Linked DNA regions of Homo sapiens: regions 2, 3 and 4 are each linked to region 1. Evidence: promoter capture Hi-C in 16 types of primary human blood cells and fetal thymus (Javierre and others, 2016). All regions are on one chromosome and are shown on one strand. Each heading gives the region's core, a stretch centred on a gene start or on the middle of the fragment in contact. The rest is flanking DNA. Distances are from core to core; before and after follow the strand shown.

Region 1 (4,493 bases), core at 1,432-3,931:
GGACTTTTGATATCTCTTTAAATATTCCCTGACTCACGGAAAAGATGTCCTCTTTTGGTGTATACATTGTGAAAATCTACCCATTTATCTCTCTCTCTCTCTTTTCTTTTAAATAAATTATCTGATAAGGCCGGCAAGGTGGCTCACGCCTGTAATCCCAGCACTTTGGGAGGCCGAGGCGAGCGGATCACGAGGTCAGGAGATCGAGACCGCGGTGAAACCCCGTCTCTACTAAAAATACGAAAAAAAAATTAGCCGGGCGCAGTGGCAGGCGCCTGTAGTCCCAGCTACTTGGGAGGCTGCGGCAGGAGAATGGTGTGAACCTGGGAGGCGGAGCTTGCAGTGAGCCAAGATCGCGCCACTGCACTCCAGCCTGGGCGACAGAGCAAGACTCCATCTCAAAAAAAAAATTATCTGATAGGTTACTATTGCTAAATTAATTGGCCATTATAATAAGCTGATTTGTTTCTTATTCAGCAAGATCTCTTTTGAGAATGTGACAAATTAAACATACATAGAATCCATATGGTATTATCCTGATAAAGGGAAACGAGGACACTAAGACTGTCAAATGGAAATCTTCTTGTCAATTGGCAAACACTTGGGAATTCCACATTAGAGCATTGCTTGTTTTTAATTTTTTTTTTTTAATTTTTAAAAGACAGGGTCTCACTCTCTTACCCAGGCTAGAGTGCAGTGGTGTGATCATAGTTCATCATAACTTTGAATCTCTGGGCTTAAGCAATCCTCCCATGTTAGCTTCCCAAGTAGCTAGGACTACAGGGTTGTGCTACCACGCCTGGCTAATTTTTAATTTTTTTTTATCTACAGAGCCTGGCTATGTTGCCCAGGCTCTCTCAAACTCCTGGCCCAAGTGATCCTCCTGCCTTGGCCTCCTAAAGTGTTGGGATTACAGGTGTGAGCCACTGCACCTAGCCAGAACATCGTTAATGTAGTTCAATATGAGATAAATTATTATCTTCAATGAAACAAGCTCTAAAAGCATTCCATTCCTAAATTGTATTTCAAACTTCCTATTTTGTTGATATTTCTTAACTTCTGGCCAGTTTTGGACCATAATCTTTTAATGTGAACCAAAGATGGTACGTATTTGACCAAAGCAGTTAGTTTTAAATGTATAAAATTGAACCAAATGGAAAAAATAGGTTGGGGATGCAGTATAGATTAGTGACTAAGTGCATAGGCTCTGGAGTAAATCTGAGTTTTTTTTTTTTTAAAGGAACTAAAAAATGTACTGCATTTTCTTTGTGGAATAAAAGCCTTGCCTGAGTTGTGCTATTTTCATAAGGCTTTTGAAGTGGTCTTGACCCACTGTGTGTAACAGTATTTCAGGTGGTCCTCCCCATGGCTGAATAATGCCATCCATTATTCTTTAATTTTTATTTTTAGAAACAGTGTTTCACTCTGTCACCCAGGCTGGAGTGCAGTGGCCTGATCATGGCTCACTGCAGCCTGGACCTCCTGGGCTCAAGTGATCTTCCTGCCTCACAGCCTCCCAAAGTACTCAGATTATAGGTGTGAGCCACCACGCCTGGCCACCATCTATTACTTTTGAAATCTTCAAAAGACTTGCTTACTCAATGTCAGCTGATGGTTGGTAAAAATAATTTGGCCTTTAGTGTTAAGTGAGACATCATAAGGGTATTGAGGTATACATTATGGAGATTGATGTCAGGTCAGAATATTGGAGTTATACATCTATTTCTGAGTTGAATACTCAGCTCCCACGAGAAAGAAAGTAGTTTTAAGGTCCAGCTTCTTAGTCTACTTGAAGCAAATTTTTTTTCTTTTATATTTCTGAATATAAATATACTCTTATATGGGCTAAAAAGACCCCATGAATAAATAGCAGGTTCAGTAGTTGAGGAGTGGAGTTTAGTAGGTTTGTTTTCAGTATAAATTAGATAACATGTGGAGGTCACAGCATTTTGGAAATTGAGTGTCCCCAAGTGAGCTTTGTTTATAAACTTTCAAAATGTCGGAAGTGGACAGGTTTGTTAAATCTTGTCTGCCAGCACCCTTTTCTTCCTTTGTTCCTTTTCCTCTCTGTGTTATTGCCTGCGGCAGCCAGTCCTTCATACTAGATAGAGTTCAGATAAAGCAAACGTTTGGCAAAAACATACTGTTTGACCTCCTCCCCCTCTGCTTATGAAGGGGTAGCATGATTCTGTGTTTTAAAGCAGTGATGTTTCAGCTGTGAAATGCACTCGCTGTAAGCTCTAGGCTGAGTGCATGGAAACTGTTACGCTTCTCATTTTATGTGATCTCCTAATTGGTATGTAGCAAAAATTTTCTAAAACTGTTTTGTGGCTTGTTTTGTAATAAAACCATGTGAAATACTGAAATATGGTCATGTGTTTTCCTAATACTGACCTTCTGACCATGGGTGGGTGAGCTTTCTTATCAGTCTGCCCTCATTGTCGGTTTTAGGGATTTCAGGAGGTAGGTTCCTGCTCCGGGTAGGGCTAGAGACCTTCCCCTCATTGCCTGGGGGAGAACCTGGCTCCGGGGCGCCGACGGGGGCGGGTGGTAGGGGATGTACGGGTGTGTATATGCAGAGGTATGCCAGGCTCTGCCCCTTAAAGTTTGGGGGCCGGCGGAGGCGGCGCCGTGGCCGGGAGAAAGTGTCTCTCATTTAGGAGGGTTTGCAGGTCCAGAGTAAAGTCACTGAAGAGTGGAAGCGAGGAAGGAACAGGATGATTAGACCTCAGCTGCGGACCGCGGGGCTGGGACGATGCCTCCTGCCGGGGCTGCTGCTGCTCCTGGTGCCCGTCCTCTGGGCCGGGGCTGAAAAGCTACATACCCAGCCCTCCTGCCCCGCGGTCTGCCAGCCCACGCGCTGCCCCGCGCTGCCCACCTGCGCGCTGGGGACCACGCCGGTGTTCGACCTGTGCCGCTGTTGCCGCGTCTGCCCCGCGGCCGAGCGTGAAGTCTGCGGCGGGGCGCAGGGCCAACCGTGCGCCCCGGGGCTGCAGTGCCTCCAGCCGCTGCGCCCCGGGTTCCCCAGCACCTGCGGTTGCCCGACGCTGGGAGGGGCCGTGTGCGGCAGCGACAGGCGCACCTACCCCAGCATGTGCGCGCTCCGGGCCGAAAACCGCGCCGCGCGCCGCCTGGGCAAGGTCCCGGCCGTGCCTGTGCAGTGGGGGAACTGCGGGGATACAGGTGAGCCGCGGGGGCGCGCGCCCTCGGAACACTTTCTAACTCTGGAGGAGCGTAAAGGAACAAGACCTCACTGAGACCGCACAGTTCGCGCCTGGTCCTCCTGCGTCATTTGCCTCCTGGATTCGACACCTCTGTGTTCCTGATTTCCTTTCCTCCTTAACAGGGGCTCTTTACCGGCTGCTACGTGGTTTCTCCCTCCCCATGCACCTTTTGAACACTGTCTTGCCTTTAACATTTTTCCAACTAGGATAGCAGGTCTGGTTCCCTCGAGGCGTACTCTTGAGCCAGTATTTTTTCATAGGGACCAGAAGCGCAGGCCCGCTCAGGAGGAATTACAACTTCATCGCCGCGGTGGTGGAGAAGGTGGCGCCATCGGTGGTTCACGTGCAGCTGTGGGGCAGGTAAAGGAGGAGGAGGAAGACCTCCACTGTCCCAGCTAATGGTTTCTGCGTGCCTACCTGCTCCAGACCCTTCGCAAGCGTCATTTAATCCTAAAAAACCAGTGAGGAAACTGAGACGTAAAGAGGTTGAATAACCTGTTCAAGGTCATTTAACCAAAGAGCAGAGGCACAAGGATGCTGACTTCTAAATCCCAGCTCCCCCTGCCCACTTAGGTGGCTGGTGCTTTTTCCCCCTCCTGCCACAGACAAAATTTAAGGTCAGATATAAGAGCTAGTAGGCAATTTCTTTTCTTTTTTTGAGACAAGGTCTTGCTCTGTCGCCAGGGCTGAAATGCAGTGACAGATCACGGCTCACTGCAGCTCCATCTGCTGGGCTCAAGTAATCCTCCCAACCCAGCCTCTGGAGTAACTGGGACTATAGGCAGGTGCCACCATACCCAGCTAATATTTGTATTTTTTTGTAGAGACGAGGTCTTGTTATATTGCTCAGGCTGGTCTCGAACTCCTGGGCCCAAACGATCTGCCACCTTAGCCTCCCGACGTGCTGGGATTACGGGTGTAGCCACCACATCCAGCTTAGTAGGCATTTTGGTTGTGATCTTGCTCAGCCCCCACTTTGGATACAAGGAAATCCAGACCCAGAGAGCAGGGTTAATTTGTCCTATGTTACTATGTTACGAGGCCAGTTGGCGGTGGAAACTAAGCCAGAATCAGAGCCCTTTGATTCTCTCCTGCCTGGGTCCTTGATACTGTGGTAAGAGGCTGACTTTTGCCTCTAGTATTAGGATTGGGTTCAGTCTTTTCGCAGCAGAGAACCCATGGGCTGCTACACTAACCAGCTCTGAAGAAGCAGTGTCCCTGGAAAAGGAGAGCTGGACCCCACTCTCAACCATGCTCACAAGAGATGGC
Region 2 (4,493 bases), core at 523-3,022, 190 kb before region 1:
GCCAAGGGGTGAGAATTGCTTGAGTCCAGGAATTTGAGACCAGCCTGGGCAACACAGCAAGACCCTGTTTCTACAAACAAAACAAAACAAAACAAAAAACATTAGCTGGACATGGTGGTGTGCACCTGGATTTCCAGCTACTCAAGAGGCTGAGGTGGGAGGATTGCTAGAGCCCAGGAGCTCGAGGCTATAGTGAGATATGATTACACTACTGCATTTCAGCCTGGACAATAGAGCAAAACTCTGTCTCTAAAAGAGAAAAAAAAGACACTGCCCCAAATTTGCACTTACCCCTTGTGCTCACATCCCATGGGTGAGAACTGAGTCACAGGCCACACCTAGTTGTAGAGAAGGAAACGTGGCCTCTTGCTGTGTGACCATGTGCTCAGCAAAAATTCAGAGGGTTCTTTTGCTAGAAGAAATAAGGAAATGATGGATACAGATGGATACAGGATGTGGGGTGAGGGAATTAGGCTCTACCATGGTGATCTTGTGGAAATTCAAAGAGTAGAGGTGCATAGACACACAATGTTAAAGAAGCATTATAGTTTTTCTTTTTTATCTTTGTGTGTGTGCATGTGTGTAGAGATGGGCTCTCACTGTGTGGTCCAGGCTGGTCTCAAACTCCTGGGCTCAAGCGATCCTCCTGCCTTCGTCTCCCAAAGTGTTGGGATTACAATCATGAGCCACCACACCTGGCCTTTTGCTTTTTTATCTTAATAATTAAAATTGTGTGTGTGTGTGTGTGTGTGTATGTGTGTGTTTACAATGGGTACAGAAGGAACAGAGCCATGAATTATGTTTCACAATCTGTGTAGGAGATATCTTTTGACAGTTTTATCCAGTTTCCAACAGTTAAATATTTTTGTTTCCTCTAAGAAGACAGAGGTCAGTGTGACCCCCTCGCTCCATAAATGGACATTTCACTTACTGAGTTGAGGCCAGCTGAACCACTCCTGAGCCACAGGCAGGAATCTCTTTTGTTCTCTGGGCAGAGCTGAATTTACTATGAAGCTGAGGAAGCCTAAGCTTCAGTCCCCTCCCTTGCATGGGCCCCTTCATACTAGTGTGGCCCTAGCACTGTGTTCATGGGGTCCTTTAGCATTTTTCTTAAAGAGTGCTTCCCCAGTTTTTAGGCTTCCTGCTTCACAAAATCAGGCCTTGGCAACCTGTTTGATGCCTCCTTTCTTTGCTGAGCCTTGCTACTTTTTCCCAGATGGGGAGAGGCTCCTGGGTGTCATTTCCCTCATCAACATAGTTTCTTGGAAGAAACCACCCTAAAAGGAAGTATAGCGAAAGAGCATCCCAAAGAAAGAGATGTTAAAATTAATCCTTTTGCACCTCCCACATAAAGTATGCCTTTTATGCTCTGGCCCAATTTTTTGTGCCTTTGAGGATTCTCATTTGTATCAGTAGGGGTCCTTGGGTTTTTTTTTTTTTTTTCTTTTCTTTTTAGACAAGGTCTCGCTCTGTCACCCAATCTGGAATGCAATGCCACAATCACGGCTTACTTCAGCCTTGACCTTCTGGGCTCAAGCGATCCTCCTGGGCTCAAGATTAGCTGGGACTACAGGCGAACACCACCACGCCTGGCTACTTTTTAATTTTTTTATAGAGATGGGGTTTTGCTATGTTGCTCAGGCTGGTCTCAAAGTCCTGGGCTCAAGTTATCCTCCTGCCTCAGCCTCCAAAAGTGCTGGGATTATAGGAAGATGCCACTATGCCTGGCTGAAATGCTCTTTTTTTATGGTACTTTGGCTCAACTGGCAAATGCCTTCTTGAAATGAGCATTTCACACTTTGGTCACCACACAGTCACTTAGATGAAACCCACAGGCTGCCCAGTAACATGGGCTCCCACTGGGCATTTGGGGAAGGGCACACCCTGCCTGGAGTGGTGAGCACTGCTAGGCCTGCTCTCCGCCCTTTTCCACCCTCCGGGTGTCTTCAAAGCTGGCTGTTTTCTACACTAACTTCTGGCAGGTCTGGATTTTCCGTATAAGGGCTTTTTTGGCCAGTACTTCCTTATACTGAAGAATTTTATATTAGTTCCCTTTCAGATTCGAAAATCAATCTTTAGTCAACCTAAAACATTATTCCTGGAGTGGGGCTTGACTGTATGTGGGGAAGAGGAGAGGGAGAGACTGATGCAAATATGCACACACACATACTTTTTGCATACAATTTCAGGGAGGCCAGGACCTTCTGAAACCCTTCCTTGCTAAGCCTCTGCTGTAGAGGGTGAAATGCAGCCAAGTTAACTTGTTAACAACAACAAAAAGGCCGTAACAATACTTTCCTCCTGAGATTGTAGGAGTAAGTGGGGGAGATTAAATGAGACGATTCATGTAAAGTGTAGTGTCTAACACATAGTAAGCAGTTATAATTGTTCACTTTTCTTTTGGGGCTTAAATGATCTTACTTGTTTTCACGAGTTCCTTAGGTAATAACAATACTAACAGCCTTTGTTTTTCCATGGCCTGTTGTTTGCCTTTTAACTTGAAGGCACACAGTCAGAAGCTTCATTTTTTTAAATGTAACCAAATCTATCTTTATTTTGTGTCTGATTTCATTAATTACTTGTAAGTTGGATCCTCATCCTTCCTACAGAGCTCTGATAGATTCTGTTGCTTGTAGACTGTTTTCTCCCAATGGTTCGATTTTTATTATTTAGTCATCTAATCCATCTGGAATTTATCCTGGTATATGCTCTGAGGTAAGGGTTTAACTTGATCTTTTTTCCCATTGCCAGCCAACTATGCTCCAATCATAAATCTTCCTTCTCCTTACATATTGTAACATGTTCTTTATATTTTTGTTGTTTGTTCTTTTTTTTTGAGATAGAGTCTCGCTCTGTTGCCCAGGCTGGAGTGCAGTGGCACGATCTTGGCTCACTGCAACCTCCGCCTCCCGGGTTCAAGCCATCTTTTTTGGTATATAATAAATTCCTGTATCTTGTAAGATCTTTTCCTGGGCTTTCTGTTCTGTGTTACAGAACAAAGATCTGGCTATTTTTGCATAAATGTGTCTCAATGTCTTGTAGGACTAGTCTATTCTTCACTCTTCTTGTTGGTGTTGTTTTTTTTTGTTTTTTTTTTACAAAATCTAAAATATGTTCACCAGTTTATTTTTCCAGATAAACTTTTAAACATTATTGACGAATTCTAAGAAAAATCCCCTCGGAATTTTGATTGAAATCAAATTAGCCCTGTAAGTTAACTGGGTGGTATTGCCATCTTAGCAACAGTGTTTTACCAACTTGGAGTTTCAGGACCAAAATACAGTAATCAAAATTTTACTCCAAAGAGATAAAAGCTGGAGTTTACAGGATGCTGTGTATCATGTCACAGAGTTGGCTGCTTATTTTCCCATCTTTTTATTTCTTAGAAATACAGGAAGATTATTGGTCACAAACACATGAGTTACTGTAATGAAATTCCCCCAAATCCCTAGACTAAGGAATTAAGTTGGAGTTGGTGTCACAGTTATTTTTGAAAGCTTTTTGTGATTTTATTCTTTTCTTCTGGGTGGACCTTTTCTCCCCACATCCTCCTAGCAGTGAATCTGCTTTTGCCTTTCACTGCCCCTTCCAACCACCATCCCAATCTGTTACCTTGTAACTTCTTAGTGACAAGAAGACGTATGGTCTCCTGAAGATTCACAATATATTTATGAGGATAGTGAGTAGAATATTTTATATTAGGGTGATCTCAAAACATTTGGGCTATATGATTAATGTTCTACTAATCCATAAGGATGCATTGTTTAGGACATTTATTTTATTTTGGAGGTGGGGAAAAGAAGAAGGAATAAAATGGCTGTAGGAGAAGAAATATTCTTCTTTTTTTTTTTTTTTGAGGCGGAGACTTGTTCTGTCCCCCAGGCTGGAGTGCAGTGATGCAATCCTGGCTCACTGCAACTTCTGCCTCCTGGGTTCAAGCGATTCTCTTGTGTCAGCCGTCTGAGTAGCTAGGATGACAGGTGCGTGCCACATGCCCAGCTAATTTTTGTATCTTTAGTAGAGACGGGGTTTCGCCGTGTTGGCCAGGCTGGTCTCGAACTCCTGACCTCAGGTGATCCACCTGCCTCGGCCTCCCAAAGTGTTGGGATTACTGATGTGAGCCACTGCGCCTGGCCAGGAATATTATTCTACTTAAATGTCCTGAATTCCTTCAGCCTCTTTAATTCAAGTCTTAAATTCCACCCTCCCCACAAACAGGTAAGTGTAGTAAAGCAGATATCTCAAATTTGAAGTAATGTCCTTTACTAGAATCTTAAATTTATAAACAACATAGAGGAAGTTTCAGATGGTTTTCTTGTCTGAGCTCTAGGTATAAAACTCTCAGACTTGGAGTTGGACTTGGACAGCCCTCTTTTTTATTTTTTATTTTAATTTTATTTATTTATTTATTTTTTACATTCTTGTAAATCTTTATTTTTTTTATTTTTTATTATTTTTTTTTGCAGATTTCTTTTTTTTTCTTTTATTATTAT
Region 3 (4,493 bases), core at 1,388-3,887, 180 kb before region 1:
ATTGGGAAATTGAGGCCAGAGCCTTTACTGCTAGTAGTGGACCTGGGTTTTGAATTCAGCTTTTAAGATTGCAGATCCAGAGCTCTTTGGAACATATTATACAGCTTTTCTCTCCAGGAAATTTGTGAATCCCTCTCTGTTGTTCACTATCTGAAGAGAAGACATATCAGAGGAAATAAAGGGTCTTAAAATGTTGCCAGAGCAGGGTGTGTGATGGGGGAAAGCATCGTCTTAAGTATCCTGTCATGTGATAGTAGTTTAAAAAATCAAAAAATACATCTTCCACATGTGTGAACTTGGCACATATTATTCTGAAGTATGAAATGTATTTTAGGAAGTTGAAACATCAGAAGTTTGGAAGCTTGCAGCATGATTTAGATATAAATTAATAGTCAAGCAAAAATCATCACTGGATAAGTGCAGTGGGATTGAAAACATTTTGCTTCCTCAATGCCTAGCTTCAGCTCATCAGTGAAAAATAAAGAAGGAGTAGACAAATTCAGTACTAGCCTTTGCATTCTGTCTCCACCTGAGTCATGCATGGTTGAGAAGAGGCAGGTGTGTGGAGGTGTGTGCGGCTGCCAGGGGCTCTGCGCCTGTTTTATGGTAGATAGAGGAGTTTTTAAGAGGCCTTTGTTGGTGATCTCTGGCTGCATAACAAATTACTCCAAAACTGAAAACAACGAACATCTCACATAGTCTTTGTAGTTGGGAAATTTGGGAGCTGGGTGGTGTGGCTCAGGTCACTTTTGAGAATGCTGTCAAGATGTCGGCTGGGACTGCAGTTGTTTAAAGACTTGACTGAGGCTCAAGAATCCTCTCCTAAGGCGGCTTACTCATTTGCCTGGGCTGTGAGTGCTGGCTGTTGGTGGGAGGCTGCAGTCCTCACCATGTGGACCACTGCTGGGTTGCTTGAGTATCCTCACAGCATGGCAGCTGGCTGCCCCAGAGTGAGTGATCCAAGAGCAAGCAAGATAGAAACTGCAGAGTCTTCTGTGACTTAGCCTCAAAAGTCACACTTATTTCCACAGTATCCTTTTGGTTACACAGGTCAGTCCAAGGGCATGTGTACCAGGAGGTGAGACATATAGGGGCCGTCTTGGAGGCTGGCTACCACAAAGCCCTTTTCCACTTTTTAAAAAACTTGCATGAAAGGATATACAAGGGTATACATTCTTAGATGGCAAAGCTTTTCCCATTGCTTTCTTCCTTTGGCGTCTCTTCACTATGCCCTTCCTAACCCCACTCCTTCTTGCTGCCCTCTTTCTTAAACAGGAGCAGAACTGGCTGAAGAAATTATATAGCCGCCTATTGGCTTGTGGTCCTGCCATGGATGTGTCTCATGCACCCAGCATGCTGGCTGAGATTGCTCTGTCTGGAGGCCCCTCTCTTGCTGAACATTCCTCCCTCTTCTTCTTTATCCAGCATCAGCTTCTCAGCTCCATGTGGGTGGTTGCTACTTTGTGAGAGAGGCAGTTGGTATTTTGAATTTTCCAGTAATTATTTCTGAAGAGATGCACATTATGGTTGTTTGGCAGCAACAGATTGAAGTTACACAATCCCAGATCTCTGCACAGGAGCCCCATCTGTTAGCACGTGCTCTTTCCCCCCTTGCTCTTCCTGCCAGAATAGGTTGGGGATGGGGGAGAAGTTTTGTGGGGAGGGCCTTCTATGATTTCTGTCTGTGGAAGGGGATTTCTACTCTGTCTAAAATATAACCTCAAACAAATCCAGATGGTTCCAGAACCCATGGGCATCTCATGAGTGAGAAGAGAAGACACATTCATTGCTGGATTGGCTTCTCTGGAGGAGGCTTTGGCTTCCTGGTGGGTGGACACTTCCTGATAAGCAAGTCCCATCCTCTTACCTTATAATCTTGGCCTTTAGAGATACGGTTTGGGTCTCTTTTTATTTTTCTTCCTTTTTTTTTTTTAGAGACAGGGTCTTGCTGTGTTGCCCAGGCTGGAGTGTGGTGGTACAATCATAGCTCACTGCAGCCTCAACTCCCAGTCTTAAGGGATCCTCCTGACTCAGCCTTCCGAGTAGCTGGGACTACAGGCGTGTACCACTACACCTGGCTTGGGTGTCTTTTTAAATAAAATAGCATAAAGTGCTGTTTTGGAAATTTGAAGTGCTTTCTTCATCCTTAGTACAAACTTTTTTCAGTTTACCAAGTGGTTTTCCAGATTATTCTTTACCTGTAGAGTCTTAGGTTTTAGGGGGAGCCTCTCTCAGGAGTTAGAGGCTTATCTCAGGAGAACAGCAGTGTAGCTGGTGCCCTGTCTCTTAAAAAAGCAATGAAATTTGCCCTACCGTGACTTCTGGGTAATGTTTTTGTTTGGGGGTTTTTTGGAGGTTAGGAAGGGGTTTAAACAGGTAGTTTGTTGTCTGGGTTCTGCGTGTGTGTGTGTGTGTGTGTGTGTGTGTGTGTGTATGTGTATTTTTCTGCTTTGGTTGGTGAGACAGCTTAAAACTATGATGTACCTAAGAGGATGGTCTGCCTTGACTCACCCACTCAGAATCCCGCTGACCCACCCCTCTCCCATGCTTCCGGGGATCCTGGGCCCCAGCAGTTGTTGGGGAAATGTGAGCTATGCAGCCCATACCCTTAGATTGTATCCCGCATTCCTGGAAAAGGGCCTATTGTACGGTTGTTCCAACCCTGGACAATAAATTGTGTACTTCTCCATTTTAAGGCTGATGACTAAGTGAGAACGAACATATATAAAATACACTTCAACTTTGGAGGAATCAGAGAGACTGGGAACCCAAAGACATGAAACTGGGGGAAAAAAACACTCAAATTTTGGACTTTTAGCATTAATGCTAATATACATCTGATTAACAGTCTCCTCAGGGCAGACCACTTGAGCAGAAAGGGTTGGTGCCAGAATCACGCTTGTTTCCCTCCTGAAGCCCTTGATTCAGTGTGGGGGAGGAGAGCTGGGAGGGCAAGACCAAGGCACGGAAAGGAGGAGTGGGACCTTCAGGGCAAAGGGCCAAGGGAAGAGCTATGCCAAGCCATCCCCCAGCCGTTAGCCTAGAGCTGAGCTGCGGCATCACTGAACAATTAGCTAGGCCTTCTCAGTATGCGACAGATGAGGTGAGGAGGAGTCCTTTATGTATCAGACACTTGCCCTGCAGTGGGCACTGATTGAGCATCAGCTCTGTCTTGGACGCTCAGTTTCTGCTCCCAGGGATACAAAGAGTAAGGCCCCTGTGGGGCTCCGAGTCTGGAGGGAGCTAGCCCTGTCCTGTTTCCCAGACCTCTTGGCCGCCTTGGCATCCCAAGAAGTTTTAGCAGCAAAAGATAGGGAATTTGTGAGGGAAGAAATTCCCCCGCAAATCTGGAGGTCAAATGTTAAAAGGAAGAAGGCAAATGTTAAAAGTTAGAATTTTAAAAATCCCCCTGCCCACAAAGTAAAAAAAGCCTTTTGGGCTTGACAATTATAACTCTAGGATGTTTCATATACCATACTTGGCTACATCTGTTGTGGAAAAGAGGGATGATGTCATTTTTTTCACCTCTTTCTGTAAATAGAATTTATGTAGCACATGTGGGCTTCCTCAAGAGAAATTTAAAACCCCAAATTGATGGGATGGTGAGACCTACCACCTCTCTCAAGCATGTGTCTCTCCAAGTGACACACATAAGACACTATTTAAAGCATGTACTTTGGATGTGTGTGCTGGCTCACTCCTGTAATCCCAGCACTTTGGGAGGCCAAAGCAGGAGGATTGCTTGAGACCAGCCTGGGCAACAAAATGAGACCCCGACTCTACCAAAAACAAACAAACAAAAAATTAGCAGGGCATGATGGCTTGTGCCTTTAGTCCCAGCTGCTCAGAAGGCTAAGGTGGGAGGATCACTTGAGCTTGGGAGGTTGAGGCTCCAGTGAGCCGTAATCGCCCCACTGTACTCCAGCCTGGACAACAGAGCAAATCTGTGTGGTATAGTTGAACATTTTACTAGAAATCACAGGACATTCCTCCTGCTCCATTTCCCTCGGGTCTGAGCCTCCATGTTCTTTTTTAAAAATAGTTTTATTGAGATATAGTTTACCTGCCATACAATTCACCATTTAAAAGCTTTATGATAGTTTTTAATTTATCGACAGAGTTGTACAACTATTATCTCAATTTAATTTTTAGAACATTTTATCACCCCCAAAGGAAACCCTATACCCATTAGGTGTCACACTCCATTCCTCTTCCTTCCCACCACCAGTCCTAGGTAACTGATGATCTAGTTTGTGTCTCAATAGATTTGATTATCTAAACGTTTCATGTAAGTGGAGTAGTAGAATATGTAGTCTTGTATGACTGAATCAGTTCACTAACCATGTTTTCAAGGTTCAGCTATGTTGTAGCAAGTATCGGGACTTTATTCCTTTTTTATTGTTGAACAATACCCCATTTTATTGATATACTATATTTTATTTACCCGTTTATTGGTTGACGGACATTTGGGTTATTTACACTTTTGGCTATGA
Region 4 (4,493 bases), core at 700-3,199, 160 kb before region 1:
TACAACTGGCCTGTCTTTTAACTGAGCCAGTTGTACATGGAAACACATGGATATTTGCAGCCTTAGGGTGCTGATGGCTTGTTTTTAGTTGTCTGCCTCCGCATCATCAGCACAAAGAAACAATAACACATTTATAACAGTTCACATACATGGACAGAGATAATAGACTCTGTACACATAAGTGAAATTGTCAGTACAGTTTAAAATGTTCTTGTTAAAATTTTGTGTGTATTGCAGTTGAGTTTTTAAACTTTTTATTTATGAAAAGTTTCACAACTGTATGACAGAGAAAATAGTACAATGAAAACTCCCATATACCTATTCCTGGACAACAGTTACCAAGATTTTGCCATACTTACTATCTCTTTTTTAAAAAATCCTTTTGAAATATGTTAAACCAAATTCTGATTATGAAGCACTGAGACGTTTTAACACATTTTAGTATTAATAATAGTTAAACATATATTTAAAAGAAAAATTTTAATTGGACATTTGTAGAATATCTGAAGTATGTTTGTGAAGTATAATTTGTAAACCAGTACCCAATAATAATCATAGAAGATTCATGAGAAAGGTGTGTGAATGCTTTAAAAAAGCTATTCCAAATCCCAGCTACTTGGGCAGCTGAGATGGGAGAATTGCTTGAGCCCCAGAGTTTGAGGCTGCAGTGAGCTGTGATCACACCACTGCACTCCAGCCTGGGCAACAGAGTGAGAGACCCCTAAAAAAAAAAAAAAAAAAAAAAAAAAAACAGGCTGGACGCAGTGGCTTATACCTGTGACCCCAGTGCTTTGGGAGACCAAGGCAGGCAGATTGCTTGAGCCCAGTGAGACCAGCCTGGGCAACTTGGCTGTCCTGTCTCTACATAAAAAATAAATTAAAATAAAAATTAGCCAAGCTTAGTGGCTCATGACTGTGGTCCCGGTTACTTGGGAGGCTGAGGTGGGAGGATCACTTGAGCCTGGGGAAGTCAAGGCTGCAGTGAGCCATGATCAGGCCACTGCACTCCAGCCTGGGTAACAGAGACACTGTGTCAAGAAAAACAAAAATAAAAACTATAGCTATGATATTCCAGTGGTACTTGACTCTGATCCTGGATTAGGATTAGGAAGTAGGATTAGAGGGTCATCTTTTAATTTCCTTTAAAATCATGAGATATTATAACCAATTCACTGAGTTTTTCTGTGCTACTCTTGTTTCAGATATCTACGTTAGGAAATCACTTTTTGCTTTAACGAAATTACCTCATTCACACCTTCCTAATATTTGCAGCACTTATCCTAGTAAGACCACAATTAAAAAGGATTTTTATTTTTCACAAGTGATTTAGAGAATTCCTGGTCCGACTTAGAGACAGAGGTTCTAAAGAAAAAATAACTTTATTGTTTTACAATTTGTGTCTTAGTAAAATAAGGGCTATTTGTTTTAAAGCCATTTCCATATCTGGTTTTTCAAATTAGCTTTCTTATTTGGTTCTTTTAGTTTTTAGGTCTACAGAGAGATGATTCTGAGCTGGTCACAGTAGATTTTTTAAATTTATTTTTGAAACAGTCTTTTTAAATTCTGTTCTGTGGATACATGGCTTTTTTTTTTTCTTCTTTTTTTTTTCTTTGAGACAGAGTCTAGGCTGGAATGCAGTGGCGCAATCTCGGCTCACTGCAGCCTCCATCTCCCGGGTTCAAGTGATTCTCCTGCCTCAGCCTCCTGAGTGACTGGGACTACAGGCGTGTGCCACCATGTCTAGCTAATTTTTGTATTTTTAGTAGAGATGGGGTTTCACCATGTTGGCCAGGATGGTCTCAATCTCTTGACCTCATGATGTGCCCGTCTTGGCCTCCCAAGATACTTATGTTTTTAACATTCAAAGATTCAGATCTGTTCACTGCATAAAGTTCTGACCCTGAAGCTGTCAGGCTGTGCTTAGGAACTGTCTCAGCACCAATCTGCCTCCCTGCACCATAGCTGTTGGTTTCTAAATACTCCTCCAGACCAGTTTTACCCTACAGAATGTTAACATCACATAATAATACATTGCAGCAGACTCTTGCTCTATTTATCCTTTTTCTAAATAGCTCTTTTGGTGTACTTACTATTCGTATCACTTGGATAATGCACATACACAACTTGGGATAGGAAAATTCATTTTAGGGTGTTGTGCCAGCTCTTCTCTTTCAGGCTGTGCTGCCATCCTTCCTGAACTTTAGAGATGCTTAATAAAAGCAAAGAGGGAAGAACTTGCTATTTGTTTATATGAATTCAGGTAAGAGAGGATACTTACCAGTGACAGATAATTCTTTAATAGATGGTTTTTGTGTTTCATTTTAGAATCACAAGAAGCTGATGAACAGCTTGTAGCAGAAGTGGTTGAAAAATGTTCATCTAAGACTTGTTCTAAACCTTCAGAAAATGAAGTGCCACAGCAGGCCATTGACTCTCACTCAGTCAAGAATTTCAGAGAAGAACCTGAACATGATTTTAGCAAAATTTCCATCGTGAGGCCATTTTCAATAGAAACGAAGGATTCCACGGATATCTCGGCAGTCCTCGGAACAAAAGCAGCTCATGGCTGTGTAACTGCAGTCTCAGGCAAGGCTCTGCCTTCCAGCCCGCCAGACGCCCTCCAGGACGAGGCGATGACAGAAGGCAGCATGGGGGTCACCCTCGAGGCCTCCGCAGAAGCTGATCTAAAAGCTGGCAACTCCTGTCCAGAGCTTGTGCCCAGCAGAAGAAGCAAGCTGAGAAAGCCCAAGCCTGTCCCCCTGAGGAAGAAAGCAATTGGAGGAGAGTTCTCAGACACCAACGCTGCTGTGGAGGGCACACCTCTCCCCAAGGCATCCTATCACTTCAGTCCTGAAGAGTTGGATGAGAACACAAGTCCTTTGCTAGGAGATGCCAGGTTCCAGAAGTCTCCCCCTGACCTTAAAGAAACTCCCGGCACTCTCAGTAGTGACACCAACGACTCAGGGGTTGAGCTGGGGGAGGAGTCGAGGAGCTCACCTCTCAAGCTTGAGTTTGATTTCACAGAAGATACAGGAAACATAGAGGCCAGGAAAGCCCTTCCAAGGAAGCTTGGCAGGAAACTGGGTAGCACACTGACTCCCAAGATACAAAAAGATGGCATCAGTAAGTCAGCAGGTTTAGAACAGCCTACAGACCCAGTGGCACGAGACGGGCCTCTCTCCCAAACATCTTCCAAGCCAGATCCTAGTCAGTGGGAAAGCCCCAGCTTCAACCCCTTTGGGAGCCACTCTGTTCTGCAGAACTCCCCACCCCTCTCTTCTGAGGGCTCCTACCACTTTGACCCAGATAACTTTGACGAATCCATGGATCCCTTTAAACCAACTACGACCTTAACAAGCAGTGACTTTTGTTCTCCCACTGGTAATCACGTTAATGAAATCTTAGAATCACCCAAGAAGGCAAAGTCGCGTTTAATAACGTGAGTGACAGTGGGCGCTGGGTGTCGTGCTCTGTGTCTTGTCTGTTGAGTTTGGCAGCCAGCTACTTTTGGCTTTGGTGAACTGAATTTACCTTTGAGGTGCACCGAGGTTCATACAAAGCTTATAATGTTATCCTGCAGTCTTCACTGTTTGGCTTAACTGTTGTGTGGAATCAGAAATACCAGAGGTTTCCTTTTCAGATTGTTGTCTTTTTTCTGAATCCTTAGCTTAATCAGCTAAGCTCTTTTCCCTTGACCCTAGAGACTTTTTTATGTTTAAAAAAAATAGACCAGTCACGGTGGCTCACACCTGTAATCCCAGCACTTTGGGAGGCCGAGGCAGGTGGATCACTTGAGGTCCAGAGTTTGAGACCAGTCTGACCAACATGGTGAAACCTGTCTCTACTAAAAATGCAAAAATTAGCTGGGCGTGGTGGTGCACACCTGTAGTCCCAGCCACCCGGGAGGCTGAGACATGAGAATTGCTTGAACCCAGGAGGCAGAGGTTGCAGTGAGCCGAGATCACGCCGCTGCTCTCCAGCCTGGGTGACAGCAAGACTCCATCTCAAAAAAAAAAAAAGAATGGCATGAGATAGACAGGTAGAGATTTGATGGTTTTCAGAAATCCTGGCTGGACTGTTAGGAGTCGTGTTATAGACAATTCAAATGTCACTGCTGGCCACCGTCTTCATACTCTATGGATAAAACAGAAATTCCAGTCCTGTAACTTACCTCTGTAGCGTCAATAACGTGGGAAATGATCCAAAAGGGTCTTGTAGAAAGAAGACTTTTTACATAAACAGAAAGCTGTGATTTTTGTGGGAAACAAACCTACCACTAAAATTGATGAGAATTCTTGTCTCCATGTGTAATTTCTGGCTCATCAGCCAGGAGGTAAAATTTCAATAAGAATCAAGAATATTTTAAATGATCAGTTAAAACTGAGTAAATTAGTTGGTTTAGTCAATCCCCCATCTCTCCTGGGAAATTATCTGACTTTTGCAAGGTCCTTGGTGTTTTCAGTGTAATTACCTAAGGTCCTATTCCATATCAA

The links. Contacts are between HindIII fragments. The CHiCAGO score rates a contact against its expected background, and 5 or more counts as called.
Region 2: a fragment that was not itself captured here is called in contact with the fragment with the promoter of HTRA4 in region 1 in 2 of 17 cell types (monocytes and total CD8 T cells); the score reaches 6.4 in monocytes.
Region 3: a fragment that was not itself captured here is called in contact with the fragment with the promoter of HTRA4 in region 1 in 9 of 17 cell types (total CD8 T cells, non-activated CD4 T cells, naive CD8 T cells and 6 more); the score reaches 8.4 in total CD8 T cells.
Region 4: a fragment that was not itself captured here is called in contact with the fragment with the promoter of HTRA4 in region 1 in 8 of 17 cell types (total CD8 T cells, total CD4 T cells, naive CD8 T cells and 5 more); the score reaches 8.3 in total CD8 T cells.

The regions. Positions count from the first base shown.
Region 1 is chr8:38,971,547-38,976,039 of GRCh38, forward strand. HTRA4 (HtrA serine peptidase 4) reads left to right here and starts at 2,682. Exons shown (of 9, transcript NM_153692.4): 1 at 2,682-3,183; 2 at 3,485-3,584. The coding sequence starts at 2,718. PLEKHA2 (pleckstrin homology domain containing A2) reads left to right here. Exons shown (of 12, transcript NM_021623.2): 12 at 1-2,366. RefSeq lists a silencer at 2,849-3,078 and an enhancer at 3,259-3,318. The HindIII fragment of the contact is 7,181 bases long and covers 1-4,493 here.
Region 2 is chr8:38,777,545-38,782,037 of GRCh38, forward strand. It overlaps a transcript of TACC1 not described here. Among named protein-coding and RNA genes, the nearest start is that of TACC1, 7.4 kb to the right of the region's middle. The HindIII fragment of the contact is 1,490 bases long and covers 1,028-2,517 here.
Region 3 is chr8:38,796,208-38,800,700 of GRCh38, forward strand. The region is part of intron 2 of TACC1 (transforming acidic coiled-coil containing protein 1); the gene reads left to right. Among named protein-coding and RNA genes, the nearest start is that of TACC1, 11 kb to the left of the region's middle. RefSeq lists enhancers at 649-1,187, 1,307-1,446, 1,517-1,676. The HindIII fragment of the contact is 2,900 bases long and covers 1,188-4,087 here.
Region 4 is chr8:38,817,197-38,821,689 of GRCh38, forward strand. It overlaps TACC1 (transforming acidic coiled-coil containing protein 1), which reads left to right. Exons shown (of 13, transcript NM_006283.3): 3 at 2,326-3,439. Among named protein-coding and RNA genes, the nearest start is that of TACC1, 32 kb to the left of the region's middle. The HindIII fragment of the contact is 2,107 bases long and covers 897-3,003 here.